2 separate regions of the Homo sapiens genome follow, and region 2 is linked to region 1. Evidence: promoter capture Hi-C in 16 types of primary human blood cells and fetal thymus (Javierre and others, 2016). All regions are on one chromosome and are shown on one strand. Each heading gives the region's core, a stretch centred on a gene start or on the middle of the fragment in contact. The rest is flanking DNA. Distances are from core to core; before and after follow the strand shown.

Region 1 (5,136 bases), core at 926-3,425:
TTGCAATACAATTGGTCCTTTATACATTTTGGGGAGGGGGGCAGGAGGTGTAAGGTGAGGGGAGGGAGAGCATGCAGGCAGGTATACAAACCCTGATTCGGTTCTCTCCTGAGGTCAGGGTCCTGTGCTCTGGGACTCTTCACTAGAACTTTATAGATGTTTCCAACAGTACCAAAGCCCTCACGTGTGGCCGCCCATTCTCGCACCTTGGTTCACTCATTCTGGCCCAGAATAAGCACCTGCCTGTCTTCCCAGCCTGTGGGCCCCTTGGTCTTTCTCTCTCCTAGTCTTTACTAACTGTTGCCTTAGCCCTTGGTTAAAGACTTAGGCAGAAAATACATTTTCTTCAGGCAATCTGACAGCTGGAGCCAATGGGAAATGGGTAGCATGTCAGAGGAGCCTGATTCCTGGGCTGGGCAGGGCTGTGTGGTAGGGTGAGAGCAACGGCCACAACGAACAGCAGAAGGGGGACTCTTATTTTTAACAGCTGTGCTTTGGGGCACAAGGCAGAAAATGTTTCTTTCTACCTTCTCCCAGGGGCAGGGACAAACAGCAGTGACTCTGTGGGTGACTGAAGATGAAGTAATTGCTGGGTTCTGATTAGGAATAGAGGAAGATTGCCTTCTGCCCACGCGCCAGCCTCCGAGTGGCTGAAGGTGCTGGAGGCAGAGGATAAGAAGGGAGGTGGCCCCTGTTGGCTCCGATAAGCAGGTGAGCTGCTGCTTTCTCCTTCATAGGGCTTCCCAGCCCACTGTGGGTGGTTAGCCTAAGTCTGGTTCAGAGATGCCAGCTGGGCACTCTGGCAATGCTAGAGCACTAAGCAGAGAAGAGGCAGTGTTGGCTCTGGTTAGCCAGGGCATACAGGCTCTCCTCGTCCTGTCCTCCGCAGTGGCCACAGGCACCCAGCTGTTCCACTCTCTCTGAAGGCCGCCAGGCAGTCTCTCCGCAAAACCTCCATAGAGACTATCTTCAGTTTCAGGTCCTCTCCTCCGGGCTGGGTCCCAGGAAGACACCTTGGGCTGAGTTCAGGGTGACATTGGGCTCCGGCTGCAGGAAACGGGCCCTCCTTGCCAAGAGACCACCTTTCAGTCTCTGCTTCACAGGTTTGCCTTCAACTTTGCCAGCGAGTTCCCCTCTGACATGCACCACCTTGAAACACCTTCTTCAAGGGGCATGGAGAATGGGGCAGCTTGGGTCCCCAATCCTGAGCTCCTTCTCCAGCCTCCGGCCGTCACGCCTCCCTCCCTCTCCCCTAATTCCCAGTCAAGCCAAGGAAAGGCTGCACAGAAGGCCAGAGAATCACAAAGGGGAGTAGGGGTCATTTTTTCACCCATCTCGGATCACAGGGAGAAGCAAGTTGGGCAAATGACTGGAGAAAAAACAAAGGCAAGCCGAGTGCTGGGGAGAGATGTTCCCCTGAAGTGAGACGGGGCTGGACCGTAGGAGAAAGGGGAGAGGGAGGGCTGGCGGGGGCAACTGACAGCTGACAGCAGAGGCGCCGAGGCGGAGGCTGGAGGAACCAGGTGCGAATCTCGTGCTTCTCAGGGGGGAAAAGAAAAGGGGGGGGACACCTGCTCACAATGGATTTTCTCATCTGCTCTGAGGTTTTGGCACCCCCCAGGCTGGTATTCTCAGTATGGTATGGTCCAAATAATTAGCAGCACCGCCAGCTCCCAGGGCAGGCTTTGGGGGTCTGCACCAGCAGCAAAACAATAAACAGTGATGCCTGATGCTGCAGCCAAAGTTGCCGGGAAATAAGTGCGGGAATCGTCAGAGCTTGGAGAGGGATGGAGGAACCGAGAGAGAGGAGCGGAGGCAGCGGGGAGGGGGAAGGGAGGACAAAGGGTGGATGAATAATGCTTTTGCAAAGGGGAGAAAGCAACACGCAGCAGGAGGAGGAAATTTGCAAAGAGAAAAAAATTCATTTGGAGAAGGGCTGCCCCCTCACCTTGAGGTCTGCTCCAGAGATCTCCGTCTATCTCTCTCTCTCTCTCTCAATCTCTCAATCTCTCTGCTCACTCTTCTCTCTTCTCTTTCCGCTCCTTCAATTGGGAAGGGGATGGGGGTGGGTGGGGGGAGGGTAGTTGGGGGCTCAAGACTGGGGCTGCAAAGCTGGCCAGCTGCTGGGGGGGCAGAGGTTGTCTCTCGTTCTGTACCTCGGTCTGTGGGTGAATGTGGCTGTGTGTTGTGGAACTGCATCATAACACTGTGAGTCATCCATCCCCCCCACCCCCCCTCACCTCCCACGTCAGAGCAGGGCTGGGAGACACAGGAGGCGGGTCGGAAGGAAGGGAGGGGGTAGGCATCAAGGGACGGGGCTAGAGGAGTGGGGGCCGAGGGACAAGGCGGCGATGGTGGGCAAGGGGAGAGGCAGGTTGTTAAGGAGGAAGGCAGTGGGGCCAAGGAGATACGAAGAACCTGGGGGAAGGACAGGGCTGGGCAAGGATGCAGTGAGGGTGGCAGGGCTGGAGGAAAGGAGGTGGCAAGGCTGGTGAAGGAAGAGATGGATGCAGAGTGAGGGAGCACACACACATTTAAGATGATACACTTTCCCATTTCAGCTTGGACACCAGCCCTGAAGCAGGGAAAAGACAGATGTACTAATTGTCATGGATGGCAAACTGTGCCCCCAAACTTGTACCAAGCCTCAAAGCCTTGGTTTAATACTCCTGAAGGAGTAATAGACCCAATGTGACATTTTGCATGCAGGAACCCCTTAACAGCTACCTCCATATTATGCGTGCTTCATGAATGGAGACACCTACGTTATATGAAGTTCTCTATTGGGCTGTAAACTTCCTGAGACAGGCCTTCTGGGAAATTACTCTCTACATCCCAGGACTGCAATGTCCAGTGCAGACCCGTGCATTTAGATGTTTCCAAAATAGCAGTTGTTTCCGCGGCATTATGTTCTGCTGGCCTAGAGGTCTTAGTTCCAGAGGGAGGAATGCTGCCACCAAGAGACACAACAATGATTCCATTAAACTGGAAGTTAAGATTGCCACCTGGCCACTTTGGGCTCTTCTTACTTTTAAGCCAACTTGCTAAGAAGGGAGTTACAGTGTTTGACCCAGACTATCAAGATGAAATCAGTCTACTACTCCACAATGGCGGTAAGGAAGTATGCGTGGAATACAGGAGATCACGTAGGGCGTCTCTTAATATTACCATGCCCTGTGATTAAGGTCAATGGGAAACTGCAACAGCCCAATCCAGGCAGGATGACAAATGGCCCAGACCCTTCAGGAATGAAGGTTTGGGTCACTCCACCAGGTAAAAAAAACATAATCTGCTGAGGTGCTTGCTGAAGGCAAACGGAATTCAGAATGGGTAGTCAAAGAAGGTAGTCATCAATACGAACTATGACCATGTGACCAGCTGCAGAAAATGAGGACTGTAATTGTCATGAGTATTTCCTCCTCCTTTTGTTAGGAACATGTTTGTGCATATATACACTTGTATTAAGAAAATATCTTCATTTTATTTCCTTTCTTTTGCCTTTATCATGTGACATAAGACTTACTGACTTGATATCAGCACTTAAGTGTTGTTAACTCTATGTAATAGCATTTGGGTTGGGGATTGGTGCGTTTCCGGTTGTACAAAGGATAGCTGTATTATGTTAAGCGTAATTATGACCTTATTATTGTCTTTATTTGAAGATCATGTATGATTTCAGGAGACGTGTATGGGTTCAAGTTGACAAGGGGTGGACTGGTGATGGTTAATATTGTCAACTAGATTGGATTGAAAGATGCAAAGTATTGTTCCTGGGTGTGTCTGTGAGGGTATTGCCAAAGGCGATTAACATTTGAGTCAATGGACTAGGAAAGGCAGACCCACCTCAATCTGGATGGGCACAATGTAATCAACTGTCAGCTAGGCCAGAATAAAAGCAGACAGAAGAACGTGGAAAGACCAGACTGGTTTAGCCTCTGAGCCTACGTCTTTCTCCCATGCTGGACGCTTCCTGCCCTCGAATATTGAACTCCAAGGTCTTCAACTTTGGGATTCGGACTGGCTTCCTTGCCCCTCAGCTTGCAGGCAGCCTACTGTGGGACCTCATCTGGTGATCATCTGAGTCAATATTCCGTAATAACTCTGATTTATATATACATCTATCCTATTAGTTCTATCCCGCTAGAGAACTCTGATTAATAGAGCAGTTGAGTTGCATCTTCAGACATGAACCAAGTGTCTGGCTTTGGTCTCAAAGAGACTGAATTAGACTCTTAGCTCTGCCAATTACTTGGCAGGAACCACTAGGCAAATTACTGATAATCTTTGTGCCTTAGTCTTACTCTTCTGCTAAATGAAGCTAATAATATTTATTATTATTAGCTCATGGAGATGCAGAATAAAGTGAGATAACATTTAAATGCCTGAAAAATGCCTGGCACATGATAGGCAGTAAACAGTAGTGTCATTTCAAAACAACATTCTCGCCAGGTGCGGTGGTTCACGCCTGTAATCCCAGCACTTTGGGAGGCCGAGGCAGGCAGATCACAAGGTCAGGAGATCGAGACCATCCTGGCCAACATGGTGAAATCCCCATCCCTAATAAATAACAAAAATTAGCTGGACATGGTGGCACGTGCCTGTAATCCCAGCTACTCGAGAGCCTGAGGCAGGAGAATCGCTTGAACAGGAAGTCAGAGGTTGCGGTAAGCTGAGATGGCGCCACTGTACTCACAGAGGTTGCAGTGAGCCGATCGCGCCAGCCTGGTGACAGAGCGAGACTCTGTTTCAAAAAAAAAAAAAGCATTCTTGGCTGGGTGAGGTGGCTCACACCTTGTAATCCCAGCACTTTGGGAGGCCGAGGTAGGCGAATCACCTGAGGTTGGGAGTTCGAGACCAGCCTGGACAACGTGGTGAAACCCCCCTCTCTACTAAAAATACAAAAAATTAGCCAGGTGTGATGGCGTATGCCTGTAATCACAGCTACTTGGGAGGCTGAGGCAGAAGAATCGCTTGAACCCAGGAGGCGGAGGTTGCAGTGAGCCAAGATGGGACCACTGCACTCTAGCCTGGGCAACAAAGAGAGACTCCGTCTCAAAAAAAAAAACAAAACCAAAAAAACAAAAGTGAAACCAAAACAGCATTCTCAATGTATGACCCCCAAAACCCAGGGAGGAT
Region 2 (5,136 bases), core at 1,442-3,941, 1.9 Mb after region 1:
CTGGCCTGGCCAACAGAGCGAGACTGTCTCAAAAAATAATAATAATAATAAATTAATTAATAATAAATAAATCTTCTCCAGAATCATGTGAGCTATTGTCCCCATTTTAGAGGAGGAAGCTAGCCCATAGCAGTTAAGCAACTAGCCCAAGGTCACATAGACTGGTATATACTGTGGTAAGTTCACACAACCAAGAGGAGATAACACTGAACCTCGATTTGGCTCTGGGGTTGCCTGTGTTGAATCTCTGGAGTCTACACCACACTGCCCAAAACTATGCTGTTTATGAGAAGGGAACTAACCCAACCTAAGGAACGCAGGAAAGCAGAAGGGAGTTTGATGAACTCAAGGAGGATGTGCAGGAAAGTCTAGGTCAGCAGAACTTCTGGAAAGTTCTAAGGAAAGGACATTAAGCAACATGTTACAGGCAGGACCAGCTTCATTTCTGGAATTGTTGGGATTTTACCAGGGTGACCGATTTATGCATACACACCTAGATTATCCAGAGTGCTATATAAAATCCCTTTAAAGAAGTCCATCTTTCCTATCTCATGCCAGTTATAGAAATTTCATATGGATCAAAGTGGTACCGGAAAGGGGTCCCAATCCAGACCCCAAGAGAGGGTTCATGGATCTTGCACAAGAAAGAATTCAGGGCAAGTCCATAAAGTAAAGTGAAAGCAAGTGTATTAAGAAAGTAAAGGAATAGGACAGGCGCGGTAGCTCATGCCTGTAATCCCAGCACTTTGGGAGGCCAAGGAGAGTAAATCACCTGAGGTCAAGGAGTTCAAGACCAGCCTGGCCAACATGGTGAAACCCCATCTCTACTAAAAATACAAAAATTAGCCCGGCGTGGTGGCTCGTGCCTGTAGTCTCAGCTACTGAGGAGGCTGAGGCAGGAGAATCACTTGAACTCAGGAGGTGGAGGTTACAGTGAGTCGAGATTGCACCACTGCACTCCAGCCTGGGCGACAAAGCAAGACTCCATCACCAAAAAAAAGAAAAAGAAAAAGAAAAAGAAAAAAAAGCAAAGGAATAAAGAATCACTACTCCTTAGGCAGAGCAGCCCACTAGGGCTGCTGGCTGTCCACCTTTATGGTCATTTCCTGATTATATGCTAAACAAGGGGTGGATTATTCATGAGTTTTCTGGGAAAGTGGGGGACAATTCCCAGAACTGAGAGTTCCTCATCTTTTTAGACCATATAGGGTAACTTCCTGACATTGTCATGGCATCTGTAAACTGTCATGGTGCTGGTGGGAGTGTCTTTTAACATGTTAATGCAGTATAATTAGCATATAATGAGCAGTGAGGGCACCAGAGGTCACTCTCTTTGCCATCCTGGTTTTGTGGGTTTTGGCCAGCTTCTTTACCACAGCCTGTTTTATCAGAAAGGTCTTTATGACCTGTATCTTGTGCCGACCTCCTATCTCATCCTGTGACTTAGAATGCCTTAATCTCCTGGGAATGCAGCCCAGTAGGTCTCAGCCCTATTTTACCCAGCCCCTATTCAAGATGCAGTTGCTCTGGTTCCAAGGCCTCTGACAGAAGGTTGAAACATTAGAAAATGTTTAACTATACAACAATCAGGAGAAAATATAGAATAATTTTTGAAATATAATCTCAAAGTGAGTAAGTATTTTCTAGGCAGGAAATGTTAAAAGCCCCTCTCCTGCACCCCCCCCAAAAAGATGATGAAATTGACTTCAAAAAAATGTTTAATTTCTACATCGCACGGAATATCAAAAATATAATCAAAAGACAAATGGCAACTCTGGATACATTTGCAAAATATATCCTAAATCTGAATTTACAAAGAGCACCTAAAAACCTATTTATTTATTTATTTATTTAGAGACGGAGTCTCGCTCTGTCACCAGGCTAGAGTACAGTGGCACGATCTCGGCTCACCGCAACCTCCGCCTCCCAGGTTCAAGCGATTCTCCTGCCTCAGCCTCCTGAGTAGCTGGGATTACAGGTGCATGCCACCACACCCAGCTAATTTTTGTATTTTTAGTAAAGACAGGGTTTCACCATGTTGGCCAGGATGGTCTCGATCTCTTGACCTCATGATCCGCCCTCCTCGGCCTCCCAAAGTGCTCAGATTACAGGCGTGAGCCACTGCGCCCGGCCTAAAAACCAATTTAAACATAAATTAACAGAATATATACATAAGAAAATTGAACAAAAGAGGTGAACAGATAGTAGGAAGAAAGGAAGCTTTTAAGTACATGAAAAACGTTCAACCTAACTCACAATAAAAAAACACAAAATAAACCATTTCCAGCTGACTCAAAATTCAGTTATTTTCATTTGAGAGAGACAGGAAGAACAAGGGCTTTCATATTGGTGTGAGTGTAATTTGATACAAGCTGTTTTGAAAGGAGCTGTGGCAGGGTTGGTGGGGACGAGCAGGGAGGTTGGTGGGACGGGTTTGCAGAGGGCGTCTCACTTTTTTGCCCAAGCTGGTTTCAAACTCCTGGGTTCAAGCCATGCTTCCACCTCGGCCTCCCAAAGTGCTGGGATTACAGGTGTGAGCCAGTGCGCCCAGCCATCAATTAAATTTCTTCTGAGACATAAAGGCAACACTCTTCTTGCTTGGGTTGGTACTGTGTTCTGTCCCTGACCAGGGGTGTAACCCTGGGCCATTTCTTAATCTCATTATGCTTCCTCTCCCTCGTCTGTAAAACGGGATAAATAATAATAGAGACATTGTGAACATTAAGTTAGCTACCCATGTAAGTGCCTGTTCAAGGTTTTGCTAGGATTATTTTACATATTGCCCTGCCTGAAACCAAGGAACAAGGAAATCTGCTCAGCATTGTTCCTAAGACTAGATACAATTTAAGTGTTCATCAAAAGGCATAAAGAATTGTGATATATCCAAACACAGGAAGTAAAAGGATAAGCGAAGATGTATGAACGAAATAGGAAGATTTTCAGAATATTGTTGAGGAAATGGGAGCGGTACCTATGTGTGCTACCTTCGTACAAAAAGCGTGAAGTGGGTTTTAAAGTAAATGTACGTGTATACTGGTGAATGCATAGACAATTTCTGAAGGGTCACAAAAGAAACAGCTAACCATTGAAAGATGGGATGGAAACATCAGTTGTGAAATACGTGGAGGGATTCTGAATTCTGTGCATGAAATTAATTTTTCAAAAAGCTTTTTTTTTTTTTTTTTTTTTTTGAGACGGCTCTCTCCCAGGCTGGAGTGCAGTGGCGCGATCTCGGCTCACTGCAAGCTCCGCCTGCCGGGTTCACGCCATTCTCCTGCCTCAACCTCCCGAGTAGAGTAGCTGGGACTACAGGCACCCGCCACCACGCCTGGCTAATTTTTTTGGTATTTTTAGTAGAAACGGGGTTTCACCGTGTTAGCCAGGATGGACACGATCTCCTGACCTCGTGATCCGCCCGCCTCAGCCTCCCAAAGTGCTGGGATTACAGGCATGATCCACCGCGCCTGGCCTCAAAAAGCATTTTTAATTTAAATAAATAAAGTATGAGGGCGGCCTTCGTGATGTCCTTCGACTTAGTGGTGGCAATTTTTAGAGATGGCCCAAGCAAGGCTTAGGAGAAGGTAGGTGAGCCAAGGGGCAACACCCAGGAACCCAGAAGCCGGCTGGCCAGGTAGTGGAAAGGCGCAGGCGCAGGGGCGAGCGAAGCCTCGGTGGAGCGGAGCCGCCTGCACCTCCAGAGAGGCGCCATACGGGGGCCGCCGCGGAGGCCGACTCAGCGCCGAGCGCTAAGAGAAACCGGGCTGATGCAGCAGGCGGGAAACAAGCCGTAGAAATTCTTGAGACACGGGTTCGTCGCCAGCTTCCTGGTGCAAAACCCAACACCTGGCTCACAAAACGCTAGGTAACATCTCATGGTTCCACTGGGGCTCGAACCCAGGACCTTCTGCGTGTAAAGCAGACGTGATAACCACTACACTATGGAACCCCACACGACTAAAACGTTCCTCCAGGATTTGATAATTGTTCAAAAAGACATTTTGGCACTGGGAAATGGTCATGTAGACTTGACATCCGGCGATTGTGCACAGAGAAAAACTTTCAAAAGGATTCCTCATTTTCCAGTATTCAGAGGAGCACGACCGCACAGAAACATTGTCAAAATGTCTGCGTCTCCAGCTTCCTGAACCAAAACCCACGATTGGGCTCGCAAAATGTTAATACTAAACATTATAAAGAAAGGAAAGAAAAGAAAAAGGTATGAATCACGCCGTGGTTCCACTGGGGCTCGAACCCAGGACCTTCTGCGTGTAAAGCAGACGTGATAACCGCTACACTATGGAACCGCGTGCGGAATGGCTGTCTCTGGATTTAGCAATTCTGCATAAAGACATGTTAACAACGTGGACTGAAAGGGATTTACTGCTCAGCGATCACGAAAAGAGAAACTTTCACCAGGATTACAGACTTTCCAGTGTAATTCCTACCCACGCTCTCTTTAGAGACAAAGGTTCCACACTTACTTGTGGAAAGAAAGTGCCTCCCCTGATGTGTTCATCGCGGAGAGGTCGCACGTGTCTGGCTCTGTGGCGCAATGGATAGCGCATTGGACTTCTAGATAGTTAGAGAAATTCAAAGGTTGTGGGTTCGAGTCCCACCAGAGTCGCTTTTTGTTTGAAGAAGAGCAAACGGAAAGTTAGGCGGAGGGAATGGATATAAAATAGATGAAACGAGAACTGTCTACCATTTAAAATTTCCGGAATGATGTGAATTGCAGCTAATTGCAGTTCCTGGTTATGTCCCTTCACTTGAAGGCGTAAAGAATCCCGTTCCTCTATCGAGCCTTTTCTCCTTCACTTTTACCTGGCCCCAGTTTCTAGTGGCGAGATAAAGAAATTAGGGAAATATAATCAAAGTTACCAAGTTTTTTCCCCATATTATTCTTTTATATCAGGAAAAAAAGTAATTTTAAATTGTTCCGAAACTTTAGTCGCCTAGTGTTACCCGAGTTGCTTTAAAATAAAACATTGTTTTATCAGTTACCAGAATGGCCGAGTGGTTAAGGCGTTGGACTTAAGATCCAATGGATTCATATCCGCGTGGGTTCGAACCCCACTTCTGGTAAAGAGGAGTTGTTTTTCCTGGCAAAAACCTTTTTTCCTAATCCTTGACAATCCA

What was found. The method cuts DNA at HindIII sites, captures the fragments that hold promoters and counts their contacts. A CHiCAGO score of 5 or more calls a contact.
Region 2: a contact is called between a fragment that was not itself captured here and the fragment with the promoter of YPEL4 in region 1, in 1 of 17 cell types (activated CD4 T cells). The highest score is 6.5, in activated CD4 T cells.

The regions. Positions count from the first base shown.
Region 1 is chr11:57,647,737-57,652,872 of GRCh38, forward strand. It overlaps YPEL4 (yippee like 4), which reads right to left and starts at 2,176. Exons shown (of 5, transcript NM_145008.3): 1 at 1,949-2,176. MIR130AHG (MIR130A host gene) reads left to right here. Exons shown (of 2, transcript NR_186232.1): 2 at 2,562-5,136. RefSeq lists an enhancer at 548-687. The HindIII fragment of the contact is 14,007 bases long and covers 1-5,136 here.
Region 2 is chr11:59,546,756-59,551,891 of GRCh38, forward strand. It overlaps TRV-TAC1-1 (tRNA-Val (anticodon TAC) 1-1), which reads right to left and starts at 3,946; the gene lies at 3,874-3,946. All of the region lies in intron 3 of LOC102723575 (a long non-coding RNA gene), which reads left to right. It overlaps TRV-TAC2-1 (tRNA-Val (anticodon TAC) 2-1), which reads right to left and starts at 4,304; the gene lies at 4,232-4,304. TRR-TCT3-2 (tRNA-Arg (anticodon TCT) 3-2) reads left to right here and starts at 4,539; the gene lies at 4,539-4,624. It also overlaps TRL-TAA3-1. RefSeq lists enhancers at 3,543-3,762, 3,918-4,419. The HindIII fragment of the contact is 947 bases long and covers 2,219-3,165 here.